Linked DNA regions of Homo sapiens: region 2 is linked to region 1. The links are contacts of gene promoters, found by promoter capture Hi-C in blood cells and fetal thymus (Javierre and others, 2016). All regions are on one chromosome and are shown on one strand. The core of a region is centred on a gene start or on the middle of the fragment in contact, and the rest is flanking DNA. Distances in the headings are between cores, read along the strand shown. Region 1 has its middle 2.6 kb from the start of ALG14. Region 2 holds the start of PKN2 (protein kinase N2).

The links. The method cuts DNA at HindIII sites, captures the fragments that hold promoters and counts their contacts. A CHiCAGO score of 5 or more calls a contact.
Region 2: the fragment with the promoter of PKN2 here is called in contact with a fragment that was not itself captured in region 1 in 1 of 17 cell types (non-activated CD4 T cells); the score reaches 7.6 in non-activated CD4 T cells.

What each region holds. Positions count from the first base shown.
Region 1 is chr1:95,073,933-95,077,208 of GRCh38, forward strand. No RefSeq gene overlaps it. Among named protein-coding and RNA genes, the nearest start is that of ALG14, 2.6 kb to the left of the region's middle. The HindIII fragment of the contact is 4,740 bases long and covers 1-3,276 here.
Region 2 is chr1:88,682,500-88,685,775 of GRCh38, forward strand. It overlaps PKN2 (protein kinase N2), which reads left to right and starts at 1,774. Exons shown (of 22, transcript NM_006256.4): 1 at 1,774-2,129. The coding sequence starts at 2,082. It overlaps PKN2-AS1 (PKN2 antisense RNA 1), which reads right to left and starts at 2,705. Exons shown (of 4, transcript NR_110682.1): 1 at 2,665-2,705. RefSeq lists enhancers at 1,609-1,938, 1,969-2,048. The HindIII fragment of the contact is 6,383 bases long and covers 1-3,276 here.

The DNA of each region.
Region 1 (3,276 bases), core at 478-2,977:
TAGACCTACCTGTAGGTTATATTGAACAGGTATACAGATGAGTAAAAAGGTTCAGAAAGGTGCAACTGCTTGCCCAAGTGGAATAGCGTCAGATCTAGAATCAGAAACCAGAAATCTGAGTCCTGCTGGACAGGAGTACTGCATCCTGTATTCCTTTGCTAAATTCAAACTTGCCTGATCACCACACTTACCTGGAGCCTAGAATGTGTTATTAAAGGTGCAGACTCCCAGGGTCCATTAGGAAACACTGAATCAGAATTTCCGGGGATCGGGCACCTGGGATTAGCTTATGTAACCAGCGTGTCCATTCCTATCAGCAAGCAAGTTTGGGAGACTTTGTGAGTAGAGTCCGTGGACCTTACAACACTTTCCAAATTGTCTTCCATCAAATCTTCTTTCTTTTCTTTTCTTTTCTTTTTTTTTTTTTTTGAGACAGAGTCTCACTCTGTCGCTTGGCTGGAGTGCAGTGGCACAATCTTGGCTCACTGCAACCCCCACCTCCCAGGTTCAAGCGATTCTCCTGCCTCAGCCTCCCAAGTAGCTGGGACTACAGGCATGCACCACCATGCCTGGCTATTTTTTTTTTTTTTTTTTTTAGTAGAGACAGAGTTTCACCATGTTGGCCAGGCTGGTCTCGAACTCCTAACCTCAGGTGATCTGCCCGCCTCTACCTCCCAAAGTGCTGGGATTACAGGCATGAGCCACTGCGCCCGGCTCCATCAAATCTTCTTAACTATACATTCTCGCAGTAAGACCTTAAAGTGGATATTAGTTCCCTTTTTACAGACAAAGAAGTAGATTCCATAAAAGTTAAATAATTTGCCTAAGTCTACTTAGCTAGTAAGGGTGGAGAAAGTTCATAGTTGTGGACTTAGAAGTCAGTGTCTCTCAAATTTTAATGGAATCAGAATTCTCTGGGCTTACAAATGCGTAGTTGGAAGTCCAGAGGTAGGGTCTTTGGTGTAGTAAGAAAAACAGCTCAAGGATAATACAAGGAGTATCATTTACTTGTATATGCCCACTCTGCCATTCCTAATAATGTCTTCAACCTGAAACAGTCTTACCTGATACTTAAGACACTAGTGGTCCCAGAATGGGATGTGTGGATGGTTACATCCAACAGGGCAATCTCCATAGCCAAAAAAGAGGTTATCTTGTCGGGTCTTTTTTGCCCCTCCCCCCCAGTCTTGCTCTGTGGCACGGTCTCGGCTCACTGCAACCTCCACCTCTGGGATTCAAGCAATTCGCCTGGCTTAGCCTCCCAAGTAACTGGGACTACAGGTATGCGCCACCACACCCAGCTAATTTTTGTATTTTTAGTAGAGACGGGGTTTCACCATGTTGGTCAGGTTGGTCTTGAACCTGACCTCATGATCCGCCCACCTCAGCCTCCCAAAGTGCTGGGATTATACGGGTGAGCCATGACGCCCGGCCTGCTTTATTTTTTATTTTTTTAAAGGCAAGGAAACTTATTCTAGAACCCCTCACAGCAGACTTTCTTTCACTCCTTTTGGCCATACTTATATCACTTTCCCAGGCATAAAAGGAAAGCGACTTCAAAGCTGGTGGAGGTGGGAGGAGGATGATCTACAACTCACCTGTAATACATGGCTGTTGGATGGAGGGTGGGTACTGAACAAAATAGGCATTCTCTCAGTGAGGAGGAAGCTGCAGGGAGGGTTGTTGGGTAGGCAAACAATAGCATCTAGATTGCTGTGATGATGATGTGTCTGAAACAGCTTTGTAAACTGACACATGCAATGAAAATGTCAGGCATATGATAATTACTTAGCTCCAGGCCCCAAGCTCTATATTAAGGTAGATTTAATACTTGGAGGACACCCTTGCATTTCCCATTACTTCATCCCCTCACTATTATAATTACCTATATCTGTAGGAAATATTAGTTTGACCACACTTGGCATGTAGCTGGAATGAATGGAAGCAATCAAACATTGGGGGCTTGCAAGGAAATGCAGAGAATCAAAGAGGGTGGGGTACCAGACATTGTTTGGACTTATTGGTTGAATTATTCTGAATTAAGGTGATCATAAAACTCTTTAGTTTTCCTGCCAAGAAAGTTGAGAACTGCAGGGAGCAGCTAGGTAGCAGGCAGGGACAGGAACATAGCTGAGAATTCCTGCCAAAAATGTCACCTGGGTAAGCCAAGTCCTGGGCTGTGACAGACACAGAATGTATAGATAATCAAGAAGTCAAGAAGCTGTAGTGGGCCAGGCATGGTGGCTCATGCCTGTAATCTCAGCAATCTAGGAGGCCAAGGCAGGAGGATCACTTGAACCTCAGAGTTTGAGACCAGCCAAGGCAACAGAGTGAGACCCTATCTCTGTAAAAAATTAACCAGGCATGATGGTGGTGTGTACCTGTAGTCCCAGCTACTCAGGAGGCTGGGGTGGGAGGTTTGCTTAAACCCAAGAGATCAAGGCTGCAGTGAGCCATATTTGCACTACTGCACTCCAGCCTGGGTGACAGAGACCCTGTCTCAAAAAAAAAAAAAAAAAAAAAAAAAAAAAAAAGGCCAGGTGCGGTGGCTCATGCCTGTAATCTCAGCACTTTGGGAGGCTGAGGAGGGTGGATCAGCTGAGATCGGGAGTTTCAGACCAGCCTGACCAACATGGAGAAACCCCGTCTCTACTAAAAATACAAAATTAGCAGGGCATGGTGTCACATGCCTGTAATCCCAGCTACTCAGGAGGCTGAGGCAGGAGAATTGCTTGAACCCGGGAGGGGGAGGTTGCAGTGAGCTGAGATCGTGCCATTGCACTCCAGCCTGGGCAACAAGATCGAAACTCTGTCTCAAAAAAAAAAAAAAAAAGCTATAGTGGATTAATCAGGAAAGTTAAGACTGAGTGAGAAGAAGCAACAATTAAAATTTCTCTTGGGAAGATGAGTTGCGCTGACAGTACATTTAACAGATTCATGGAAGTAAATTATAGTGCTGCAAAAAGCATGAAAACTATGTTAATAGTTGACAAAATGAATAACGATATGTGGTCTATAACCAGTCATAAGTAAAGCATGTCTGGGAGGTGATTTTTTTTTTTTTTTTTCTGAGACAGGGTCTCACTCTGTCACCCAGGTTGGCATGCAGTGATGCGCTCTCAGCTCACTGCAGCCTCAACCTCCCTGGGCTCGGGAGATGCTCTCACCTCAGTGTCCCAAGTAACTGGGACTACAGGTGTATGCCACCATGCATGGCTAATTTTTGTATTTTTTGTAGAGTCAGGGTTTTACCACATTGCCCAGGCTGGTCTCAAA
Region 2 (3,276 bases), core at 524-3,023, 6.4 Mb before region 1:
CCCCAAGGATAAGTACCTTTTTTTTTTTTTTTTTGAGGCAGTGTCTCACTCTTACTGCAACCTCTACCTCCTGGGTTCAAGCAATTCCCCTGCCTCAGCCTCCCGAGTAGCTGGGATTACAGGCGCACACCACCACGCCCAGCTAGTTTTTGTATTCTTAGTAGAGACAGTTTCACCAAGTTGGCCAGGCTGGTCTCGAACTCCCGACCTCAGATGATCGGCCAGCCTTGGCCTTCCAAAGTGCTGGGATTAAAGGCGTGAACCACTGCGCCTGGCCGGATAAGAACTCCTAATCCTTTCTGTAACTCCAAAGCCTAGGAAACCATCTGGCTTTTAGTTACCAGTAAAGGTAATCATATCCCGGCCTTTCCAAGTGTTCTTTCATGTATTTAATTATCATCTTCAACCAAGGCAATATACTAGACACATAAATAGTTGTAAGACTTGTGAAGTACACACCAGAAAAATTCTTTATCACACATATGATAAGTTAGAGTTCAGAAACTGTGGCCACAGAACTCCAGATCTTCAATACATGTTTGCTGAATTGATGTATGAGACTTGAGAAGGCAAAAGGATAGACGTTAAGTCCTGGCATCAGGCCAACAGAGTTACATGGAGCGTGTGAGAAGTACATAATGTTACACTTCCTAAGAAATATGTCAACGAATGCCCTTTCTAAGTAGCAACGTACCTAAATAACCCTTACCACTCTCTCCAGGTAGTTTTAACAAAGGTATTGTACCGCAGCTTCAAAAAATCAAAAGTTACGCGTTTACCTATCCATTCACTGCTCAGACAAAACAAAAACAAAAGCTACCTGTAGGAGACTTCGAAATTCCTTAATACCATAGTGTCATTAAAAACAAACACCTAGATTTACTTTACTTAGCTATATTTTACTAAGTAGTCAGGTTAGCTTTAATGCTTACCACGCCAAGGAAAGGTGGCTTTTTTCCTTTCCCGAGGGTAATCCCGTCCCACCTCCCCCTCCCTTAAATAAAGTTAAAACAACCCAAAAAAACCCAGCTAATTCTCAGCTCTGTACAGTTCTCCAGTACAAGCAACAGTAGTTCAACCTCAAGAAAAAGACATCTTAAAGGCCGTACATTAAAAGTTGCCAGGGATCCAGCCGCTTACATTTCATGAAAAGTACAGACCATACCCGTTTAGCTAGCTGTGCACCTTAACTGGTCGAGAAGGCGCGCTGGGGGCTGGGTTTGAGGGTGAGCAAAAGGCAAGATTATTAGTTTGGGTTGACGTGGGGGTCAAGGGGAGAGCAGAGGAATAATCTGTAAGATCTGAGTCCCGAAGCTCTTTGGGTTATGGAGGTTAGAAAAGGGCCTGTTAAAGTTAGGCCCAAGTTTCGGCAAGGTGGAACTGGGAAAAAAAAAAAAGAAAGAAAAAAAAAACGAAACCCGAAAAAACAACAGCGAGCAGGCTCCCGAGTTCTAGCGTTCACAGTGAAGCCGTTAAACGCAGCAGGAAAGTAGGCGTGTGTTTTCTTCCTCTTCCCGCCTCCCCAGAGACTCGAGCCCAGTCCTTTCCCCTCATTTTCACCCCAGCCGAGTCCAATGGCTGCCCTCGCCGCGGAGTCGGGTCGGAAGACGCCCCGCCCCCTCGCCGCGTTCGCCCTAGGGAACCCCTCCGCCCCACCTTCCCTGCCCGATGAGGGGCAGTGGCTGCCGCCGTCACGTGTGCTGGCAGCCGCCAAGTGAGGCCGCTTTTGCGACGCGGTGACAGCCAAATGGTGCGACAGGAGGAGCTGCAGCCGCGGCCGCAGCGCCCGCACGGAGAGGCTTGAGGCGGCTCCTGGCGTCGCCCAGAGGGAGCGACTAGACGAACAGTCCGGTGAGGGCGGCGAGAGGAAGCCCGCTACGAGTGCCCTAGCTCCCCGCCGCTCTCGATGAACCGGACGGAATAAGCCGCGCCTCCAGCAGGGGCTGCGCCTCCATGAATCCCTAGTTGTTTTTTTTTTTTTCTTTCTCTCCCCTCTCCTCACCCCCACCCCGAGCCCCGTCCCGCCTTCTCCCTTCGCCAGAGGCGGCCGCGTCCAGGTGCGGAGTCCATACCGGAGCGCAATGGCGTCCAACCCCGAACGGGGGGAGATTCTGCTCACGGAACTGCAGGTAAGGGCCGCGGCCCTGGTGAGAGGCGCTGGCGGAGGAGACAGGGAGAGAGCCCCGCGCGGCGTCGGGGACCGAGGAAAGCCCTGCGGCCGCCGCGCCCCTAGCCCGCTAAGTGCGGAAACTCCGGGATGTCACTCGGGAAATGCTTCCCTCGGGGAACCGCTTCCCTGGGGAGCCGGACCCTCTCCCCCGCCAAAGCCCTGGCCTGCCACCGCTTTGGTTTGATTCTGCCTACCAGAGGGGACCCCATCTCTGCAGCCCTGCTGCAGCGGGAGCCTGCTCTCGCCTGGTCCCCGGAGAGGCCGGCCCGTCGCCCCCTCCCTCGGTGTCAGAGCTACCCGCGAACGCCCCTGTTGCCCCCTCCCTTCGCGCGGCCGGGCCCCGCCCCGCCTTTCCTCCGTACACCGCTCCTTAAACTCCTTTGAATGACTCCCAAGCTGTTTTCTTGTCCCTCCCCCTCCCCTCAGACTCCGCACAAAGAGCGCCCCCATAACTTCCAGCCCCTAGACAAGTTTTTTTAAAAAACGAGTCTCACCAAATGTTTGCTTCACTTCAGCAGCCCTCTTCAGGTGACAGAGTTTCTTTCCTCTATTTTGAGGGTTATCTTTTTCTTTTCTTTTCCTTTCTTTTTTTTTTTTTAACCGAGTGATAAATACAGGGTGCCTTTCTCTGCTACCCCTGCCCAGATCCGGGAGCTCAGATGCTGATGCTTTTCAGACTTTCATTTTCCCTCTCATTTGAGCACCAGAGAAAGAGCTAATAAGTTGTTTACTAATGAGAAAGCAGTCGACTAAGGGAAAACATTGGGCACCACATGTCTGCAAAAGATGAGAGCAAAGTAGATCGCTTAGTTAAGTCATGTCGAGTAGCAATGTTATTTCCCATTTCCAGATAAATATTTGATAATGTAGGCACGATTTTCTTTAGATCTCTATGGTGTACATGGGGACTTAAGCTACCCTGTCGGGTTTTTCATTACTTGGGAGTGTTCCAGAGATGTTTGTTTTTTGACTTAAAAGTTATTTTGCTTTATTTTAATATAGTTATCTTTTAGCTACTCAAAGATTGTAGATGGGAATTAGGAGAAAAAAATAGCATGCCTGCATTTCTTTTTGTGTGTTGGACAGTTAATTTTTTTTAAAAAAAA